Regions from separate parts of the Homo sapiens genome. Here regions 2 and 3 are each linked to region 1. Evidence: promoter capture Hi-C in human tissues and cell types (Jung and others, 2019). All regions are on one chromosome and are shown on one strand. Each heading gives the region's core, a stretch centred on a gene start or on the middle of the fragment in contact. The rest is flanking DNA. Distances are from core to core; before and after follow the strand shown.

Region 1 (2,983 bases), core at 220-2,719:
AGGCACAAGAATCACTTCAGCCCAGAATGTGGAGGTTGCAGTGAGCCGAGATCGCACCACTGCACTCCAGCCTGGGCGACAAGAGTGAAACTCCGTCTCAAAATAATAAATAAATAAATAAAACCTTAAGTTTAATAACTACTGTATTAGTTTCCTAGGGCTGCTAGGAAATGTGTCTTCTCTCAGCACTGGAGGTCAGACACCTGAGACCAAATTTTCAGCAGAGCCATGTTCCCTTTGAAGATTCTGGGGAAAAGTCCTTCCTTGCCTTTTGCTAGCTTTTGGTGGCTGCCATCAATCCTTGGTGATTTTTGACGTGTCACTGCATCCCTCCCATCTCTGCCTTCGGCGTCACGCCACATCTTCCCCGTGCTTCTCTCTGTGTCCCTGTGTCTGAGTCTCCCTCACCATTCTCTTATAAAGATACCGGTCATTGGATTTAAAACCCCTGTCATCCAGTTCAACCTCATCTAACTAATCACATCTGCAAATCAGGTTCATTCTGCGGTTCGGGGTGCACATGGATTCTGGAGGGGGCACTGTTCAACCCACCACAAACACTCAGCTCTTACTCTATGCTGGGTACTGTCCTAGCGCATTGCAGGTGCTCACTCAACAATGCTAGGAGCTAGGAACTATTATTATCCCCATTTACAGATGAGGAAACCAAGGCACTGAAAGGTAAAGTGACTTGCCCAAGGTCACACAGCAGTGAGTGCCACTGTAGGCTGCCTGGCTCCCACGTCCATGGTCTCTACCACGCCTTTCCCAGCTACTCCACTCCCGGCTGAGGGATTCTGGGCAAGTCACTTCACTTCTTGGAGACTCAACTCCTCTGCCTGTAAAGGGGACAAATAGCACCTACTTCGTAAGCTTGTTGTGGGGATTTACTGGACACCTGTGGCACGTGTAAAGTGCCTGGTACACAGCCAGCACATAGCAGGTGCTCAGTGAACGGAAGCTCGTAACAGTCATCATTGTTAATGTCTCTATTATTTGCAAAGGCTAGGGCAAGCCTGGGGGCTGGAGAAGGAACTCTGGAGACAGGATACCTGGGTTCTGGTCTTGGCTCTGCCCATAGACTTCCCTGAGGTCTCTGGCAAGTCACTTCCTCTCCTTGGGCCTCAGTTTTTTCCTGTGAGAAATGGGCCCAATCAGGCTTGACCTGCTGGCTCACAGAGCTGTGAGGTCCAGATGGCATGACTCAGCAGAAAGGCCAGGTCGCTCCCCATCCTCGCATGCCCTCTGTGGGGGACTTTTGGGGGGCGGAGCCCAATCCTGGTGCTCCAGGGCCCTATTGTGCTTGGCCAATGCCTCTTCTGAAGCAGCCATCCCGGCCTCTTGGTACTGCTGACCCCAGCCAGGCTACAGGGATCGATTGGAGCTGTCCTTGGGGCTGTAATTGGCCCCAGCTGAGCAGGGCAAACACTGAGGTCAACTACAAGCCACAGGCCCCTTCCCCAGCCTCAGTTCACAGCTGCCCTGTTGCAGGGAGGCGGTGGCCCTTCTGTTGCTAGACCGAGCCTGTGGGATATACCAAGGCAGAGGAGCCCATAGCCATGAGGAGCCTCGGGGCCCTGCTCTTGCTGCTGAGCGCCTGCCTGGCGGTGAGCGCTGGCCCTGTGCCAACGCCGCCCGACAACATCCAAGTGCAGGAAAACTTCAATATCTCTCGGGTAAGGCTGCCGCTCTCTGTGGTAGGGTGGATGTGGTGATGGGGAGTCCAGGCAGATGGGCCCTGCTGGGCAAGTGCGGCCTGTCTCGGGGTCTCAGGCTTCCACTCAGATCATCTGGGATTATGGGATCCTTTGAAGGTACAGCTCTATCCCCTGCCATTCCGTGGGTCTCTTGGCTGACATTCTATGAGTCAAACATCCTCACCTTCTGCACTGTCCTCGTGGGCTCCAAGGGGAACCCTTGTGTTAATGGGAACCTGCTCCAGAGAAGGCTTTGTCCTGCCTGCCACTGCCCTGCAGCCCCCGTGCAGACACCTAGCTTTGCCCAGACCTCCCAGCCCTTCCTTCTCTAATGACTCCCCTCTCTCTGTGGCATCTTTCCCTTAGCTCTTCCTGTGTCCCCTGCCCACATCCTGGCCTGACTGTGGACAGACACCTGGGGTGGCACAGCGTGGGCATGTGGCCAGCAGCTTTTGGGTTGGGCATGTGGGGCTTATGGGAAGAGGTGAAGCAGGACAGAGATTAGGGTTGGGAGACATTCAGAGGCTTGGGCACAAGGAGAGACCTGGACTGGGGCAGGACACTCTCCTGTGAGTGTGGAGTGCCAGAGCTGCCTTCCAGCCCCCACTCTGCCCTAAATCCCGGGGTGGCTTTGAGAATACCCTTGCCCACCTGGGGCTGTCTCCATGTCTGTATGAAGGGTCTCAGAACCTTCTAGCTGTGGTGTCATGTGGGTTTTGTTTACTTTTAGGGACAAGGAAAGGTCGTGGCAGAGGGGCAATGAGGAGCAGGTCCCTGTGGCAGTCTGGGACGCAAAGGGTGTGGGGCACATTGGCCTGTTCCGTAGGAGCCTGAGGGCTCCTTCAGCTGTCCCGTGCACTTTCAGGAGGAAGAGGAAGCAGGCCTATCCTGAATGACCCCATCATGTTCATTATACTTTTGAAATAATTCCTAACATGGGGCTGTGGGCTGCCTTGCAAGGTGGGGAGCACCCCATCATTGGAGGAGTAAAAGACAGGACTCCAGCTCTTGGGGAGCAGTGGTTGATGGAGCTATGGACAGATCCCACATCTTGAGAGAGTTAGCCCTTCTGCAGGGCAGGTTGGGACCCCAGCCGCACACCTGCTTCCTGGGTTCGCTGTGATGCCTGAAACGCCACTCTTAGGGATCTGGCCTCCCTTGAAGGTGTGTGGCCTCTGATTAGTTGTAAGACATTATCCCTTAAAAGGATAAGTCATTTTGAGGAGAAGGAGGAGGAAGAGGAGGAGGTGGAGGGTGGGGAGCAGATGTCAGCCAGGTCTGCTTTG
Region 2 (2,983 bases), core at 179-2,678, 320 kb after region 1:
TCTGTTTCTGAGTTCTCAATTTTGTTCACTAATTTATTCATACCTGCCAGAAAATACACTCTTAATTACTGTAGCCATGTAAGAAGACTGGATACCTACCAGAACAAATCCCTTCAAACTTGCTCTTCTTTAAACTCATCTTATCATGGCTCTTTGATTTTTGCTATAAATTTTTAGAATCAATGTGTCAAGCTCCACAAAATACTATAAAGCTTTTAATTGGAAGTACATTAAATTTATGAATTAATTTATAGAGTATTTACAATATTATAATATTGAGTCTTCTTATCTATGTACATGGTATATATCTCCCTTTATTTAGACTTATCTCTAACTTTTTTCAATAAAGGATTAAACATTTCTTCACAAATCCTATGCTCATATTTGGTTAGATTTATTCTTATGCTTCTTATGTCCCTTAAGATATCACAAACCTTTAAAATTTCATTTTCTAGTATCTGTGACTGGTGCACAGAAAGTGAATGATTTTAAAGTTTTGACCTCTATATCCAGAAACCTTGCAAAATTTGTTAATTATAATATTTGAAGAGTCTCTTATGTTGTCTTAATCTATAATAATTTACTCCACAAATTTTATTTTTCATCCTTTCCAAACCTTTTACCTTTTTTTTGCCTGTCTTAGAGGTTCGGTTAGAGTCTTCAGTACAATGCTGAATGGAAGCTGTGCTGTTGGATCCCTTGCCTTTTCCTGAATTTAAATCAATTGCTTCTAACATTTTCCTATTAAATATAATGTTTGCTGTATATTTTTGTATGTTTTTTATCCCTTTATCAAGTTAAGAAAATTCTGTTTCTTCTTTCCCAATTTTTTTTAAATACAAATGACCGTTAGATGTTTTCAAATGATTTCTGCATGTGCTGATGACCATGAGTTTTTCTCCTTTAATGTGAACCATCTTTGGATTCCCGAGATATAACCAATTTAATAATGATTATATGCATTTATATACATATACACATATGGTTTGCAAATATTTTTGTTTCTGCATCTATATTAATGAATGAGAATGGTGTGTAACTTACATTCCTCATGGTGTGCATGTCTATTTTGCATCAAGGACTTAGTACCTTCATAAAATGAATTGATGAGCGTTTCTTAATCTATTAGCTTCTGGAAGAGTTTGTGGAAGGTTGAAATTGTTTGTTACTTGACAGACTGTTAGAACTCATTGCTTAAATTGTGTAGGATGGGTGTTTTGAAGGTAAATATATTTTAAACTACTGATCCCCTTTCTTCAGATGGAATAAACTACTCAAGTTTTCTATTCTTCTTGATTCAATGATAATAAATAACACTTTAATAGGAAGTTGTCCATTGCATTTAAGCACTCAATTTTCTTTGCATAAAGTTATTTGTGGTACTGTCTGTTACATCTGTGGCTATCGTTCTTTTATATTTATAATATTTCATATTTGTGTCTTCCCTTTCCTTACTTCATCGGTTGCCAGAGGTTTTCTTAGTCTCTTCAATCTTTATTATATATTTCTTCTCAATTTTATTAATTTTTGTGCTTGGATTATTTCCTCCTTTACTTGCTTTTTATTATTTTTAGTATTTCTTATTTTCTATATAAACATTAAAGTAATAAATTGCCACCTGCCAATACATATATACATTTTCAGCAGTTTTACTATGCTATGCATAGATGTGCTTTTCTTCATATTCATAATTAGAATACACTGAGATTTTTAAATCTGTAAATTTATATCTTTCACCAAATTTTTGAAAATTTCAGCCATTATTTCTTCAATTTTTGTTTTGCCTTATTCTCTCTTTCTTCTGTTTCTGAGACTCAAATTATACATATGTTAGACCTTATGCTCTGGTGCCCTAGGTCCCTGAAGCTGTGTTCAATTTTTTTAAATAAAATTTAGCTTTTCAAATAGTTTTAGGCTTGTAGAAAAATTGTGATGATAACACTGAGAGTTGCCATATACTCCATACCCAGTGTTCCCTATTATTTTATATATTATGATACATTTGTTAGAATTAATGAACCAATTTGATACATTACTTTAAACTGAAGTCCCTACTTTGTTCAGATTTCTTTGGTTTTTATCTTCTTCTGTTCCAGGATCTCATCCAGAATCCCACATTACATTTATTTACCATGTCTCCTTAGGTTCCTCTGGGCTTTGATGATTTCTAAAACTTTCCTTGTTTTTTTCTTTTTTTTTTTTTTTTTTTTTGGCCTCGACAGTGTTGAGTACTAGTCAGGTATTTTATGGAATGTCTCTCAATTAGGATTTATATAACTTTCCCCCTCACAATTAGAATAAAGCTTGGGGGAAGAAAAGCACAGAGTCAAAGTGACATTTTCATCACATCACATTAAGGGTACATACTATTAACATGACTGATATGGTTTGGATCAGTGTCCCCACCCAAATCTCATATCAAATTGTAATCCCTAGAAGCTGCAGCAGTAGTTGGAATCTAAGGACTCTTGTGACAATCTCCAGGTGCCTTCTGAGGGAAAAGGGGAGGATGCCACTGGAGTCATCTTCCCTTTCAACGCCACTATCTTTCCCTTCTCTTTTACCCTCAGTACCAGACGATATTAGTTCTTCCCCTTCTCCAATGTCTTACATCACTTCCCAGGAGATGAAGTGTATTCTTCACTGATTTGCCAATTAGTCAGGTCCCCAGTGTGAACGTTTCCTGGAGGACCTGGTAGCTAAGGCAGTGCCAGGAAAAGTACAGCCACTGCCAAATAGTCTGGTGCAGCTTAGTGTGTCCGGGGCAAATGGACCACCTTGTATCTTTGAGTGCCAGCTATGTCTTTGGGATCAGTGGTCTCAAGGCTGGGCTGAGCAGGAGTGCAATGCACTTGTCAGGCAGCTGGAGTTCCATGAGCCAGACTTCGTGGCAAAGTTTGACCAAGCAGTGGCTGCTACAGCTGGTAAGGACTGATAGGTATTCAGACCAAAGAAGATAACCACAGCTGATGGAGTCAAGGCC
Region 3 (2,983 bases), core at 252-2,751, 290 kb after region 1:
GAGAAGAAGAAGGAGGAGGGGAAGAGAGAGGAGGAGAAGAGAGAGGAGAGGAGGGAAAGAAGGGAAAGGGAGAGGGGTTGGAGGAAGGAGAGGAGGCAGAGGCAAAGGAAGGAAGAGAGGAAGGAAAAATGGAGGGCTAACAATACCAACTAACACTTCTTGAGTATTGGGGTGTGTATGCGTGTGTGCACATGCACACGCCAAGCACACGCCAAGTATGTCATCCTCGTCAATTTGTTTAATCTGCCTCACAATCTTGAGGCAGATCATCCCCATTTCACTGATGAAGAAACTGAGGACACTGAGAGACCAAGGAACTTGTTAACGCAGCCTTAAGTGGCAGATCCAGGAGTCCAAGTTTTCAACCATCGGACTAAGCTGTCTCAAAGGAAGGAAGGGAGGGTGGGAGGAGGTAGTGAGGGAGGGAGGGAAGGAGGAGGAGAGCTGAATTCCATGGCATGAGTTCTCCTGATGTTTAAAAACCTCTCCAGCCTTCCACACACGCTTTCTCCTTAGCTCAAAAGCTAAATTAGAGCGGATTGCTCTCTCCTCACTTTAGTAATTTAGATAAAAGTAAAATTTTGTCTGAGAGCAGAAGCAATTATAGCACGGGTTTTGTGATTAACTTGATTAACACTGTTTCACTCTAAAAGTGATCCCCCCCCTTTGGCTGGCGACTGTAATCAGAGCCACGTCTTTCAACTATGCTACAGCTGCTCTCTCTCCCCCCACTCCCCAAAAAAGATTTTGACATAAATACTTATTAGGGAGGACTCTAGTCTCTGGCTGGAACAGTTGAGCAAAGAGGAGGAAAATGTCTCTCTCTACATTAGCATCTGTAGCCGATTAAAAGGCTGTCGCTTGCTACCCCAGTTACTGACAAAGATCCCAATTATGCAGCAATGAAATATACATACACGATACAGGAGGGTTTATACATTTTTAATTTTTTTCAAAGAGAAAACGTTCAGAGGAAACTCTAATTAGAGATTGCGTTTCTTTAAGAGGAAAATGATATGTGGTTTCAAGAGAGATTATTTGGGGTTATCGCTGGGCAATTGAGAATCTTTTCCAAACCCAGGTTTCTGCTCCTGAGCAAGGGCCCAGAGCCCACTGGCACTTGTAGGAATGCTGTGGTTTTCTGTCCTGTGAAGCTTTGAAATTTGAATCCCTGGGGAAGGAGGGAGTTGGGGTCCTAGCCAGCACCCCATTGTCTCCTCTCCTGGGACACTCCCCGGGATTCTGGTGTTTCTGTTCTCCTCTCTTCCCTCTGTCCTTGCCCAGGCCTACCTGGCCATCGAGACGGCAGCTGCTACTTCTGTCATCCCCTCTCGTAGCTAGGCACTCTACAGAATCCTCTTGTTTAACCAAACCTACTAGCCTAGAGGTAGGAATTACTGCTCCCCTGTTGGGGCAGATAAAGAAATGAGTGCCGAGGAGTCAGGTCACCTGCCCAAGGTCACACAGCTGCTCAGTGATGGAGCGGATTAGGATCCAAGCTGACTTGCCCCAGAGCCCCTGCCGGCTCTCCTTGGCTGTGCAAATGCATGGAGATTGCAGGATGGTGATTACAGGATGGTACAGCTCAGAGGGACTGTGGAGAGAGGCCACCCACCAACTCAGCAGCAGAGGAAACTGAGGCCCCAGGAAGGAAAGTGAGGCCGGCTTCCCGGGCCCCACCTCTCACCTCTGCGTTTAGACCAGCTCTGTCCTAGGTCCTGTGTACTGGCCTCTAAGACTTGCAGGCTTCCATATCTGGTGCTCAGCAAGCCAAAGAGGCATCTTTTCCTAAAATCCAGAGCCTTTTCTAGAGATGTGATTGCTGTGGCTGGCTTCTAGATCTCTCTAGAACATTTCTGGGAGCCTCCAACACCTCTGCCTATGCAAAAGTTCCAGACACTCTGATTCCCCACTTTTGAAGTCTCTGTAAATTATCTAGATTCTCACTGAAATCAAGTTCTTGCAAATTTCATGTCACTGATGGGCTCAGATTTTGCAGTTTATCTCCTTTGTATATCATTTACCCTCCACATAGGCCATCCACTCTGGAAATCTAGAGCCTTTTCTAGCCTTTTCCAGTGACAATGTCCTCCCAGGGAAGGTGAAGCAGAAGTGACATCATGGTATATCATTGACAGGAGTTCTTAGGCTAGACTGTGTTCATATCCCAGCTCAGCCCTCTGTCAACTAGATGACCTTCAGCAGGCTCCTGACCTCTCTGGGCCTCAGTTTCCCTACCTATAAAATGAGGATGAAAATAATGGTATAGACCTTGTAGGACTGAAGTTTAAAGAAGGTTATTTGTTGGAAGCATATAGATTAGAGCATCTAGAAAGCTCTCAATGTTAGTGCTTCTAATTATCATCACTCCATGCCTACATAGGTTGAGTCATATGAAATGGTCCTTTTGTAGGTTAAAGCTGGTCACCTATCAGTTTAATATGTTCCAATGTAGTATGGAGGTGAACACTCGAAACCTAGTATCACCTAGTAGCATCTCGATACTAGCAACCTAGTATCGAGGTAAGCACTTGAAACTAGTATCACCTCAATACTAGCAACCTAGTATCAAGGTGAGCACTCACTGTGGGCAGATCCTGGGCTTCCCAAGCACCCTCTGGGCAAGTGCATATGGAAGCAGATGGCAGAGTGGAGCAGGGATTCAAACCCAGGTCCGCTTGGTTCTCAGACTCCTGGACATGCGGGTGGTCACTTCGCAGTTCTAAGCCACATTTTCAAACCCCAATTCAGCCCTCTCTCCACTGTACCTCCCTTTTTATGTCCAGAGGAAGGCAAAAAGCCTACAGGTGGAGAGACAGAGGCTGATGGAGCTCATCTTCTTCCTCAACGACCCACCAACCTGGAGGGGCTTATAGGGGTCCATCTCCACCACAAGGGCCCTCCAGCCTCATCGGCCCCCTCCCATCCAGCCCTCAGCTGGCCTCTGATTTCCCATCCTGTGCCACCAGCCTCTTTCCTGCCT

The links. The method cuts DNA at HindIII sites, captures the fragments that hold promoters and counts their contacts. A contact is called where the count stands out against the background at its distance.
Region 2: a fragment that was not itself captured here is called in contact with the fragment with the promoter of AMBP in region 1 in 4 of the 25 tissues and cell types used here (H1 embryonic stem cells, IMR-90 fibroblasts, aorta and 1 more).
Region 3: a contact is called between a fragment that was not itself captured here and the fragment with the promoter of AMBP in region 1, in 1 of the 25 tissues and cell types used here (IMR-90 fibroblasts).

The regions. Positions count from the first base shown.
Region 1 is chr9:114,076,786-114,079,768 of GRCh38, reverse strand. It overlaps AMBP (alpha-1-microglobulin/bikunin precursor), which reads left to right and starts at 1,469. Exons shown (of 10, transcript NM_001633.4): 1 at 1,469-1,676. The coding sequence starts at 1,560. The HindIII fragment of the contact is 16,108 bases long and covers 1-2,983 here.
Region 2 is chr9:113,758,946-113,761,928 of GRCh38, reverse strand. It overlaps the pseudogene C14orf119P1. Among named protein-coding and RNA genes, the nearest start is that of ZNF618, 120 kb to the left of the region's middle. The HindIII fragment of the contact is 4,172 bases long and covers 1-2,983 here.
Region 3 is chr9:113,786,576-113,789,558 of GRCh38, reverse strand. No RefSeq gene overlaps it. Among named protein-coding and RNA genes, the nearest start is that of ZNF618, 88 kb to the left of the region's middle. The HindIII fragment of the contact is 3,025 bases long and covers 1-2,983 here.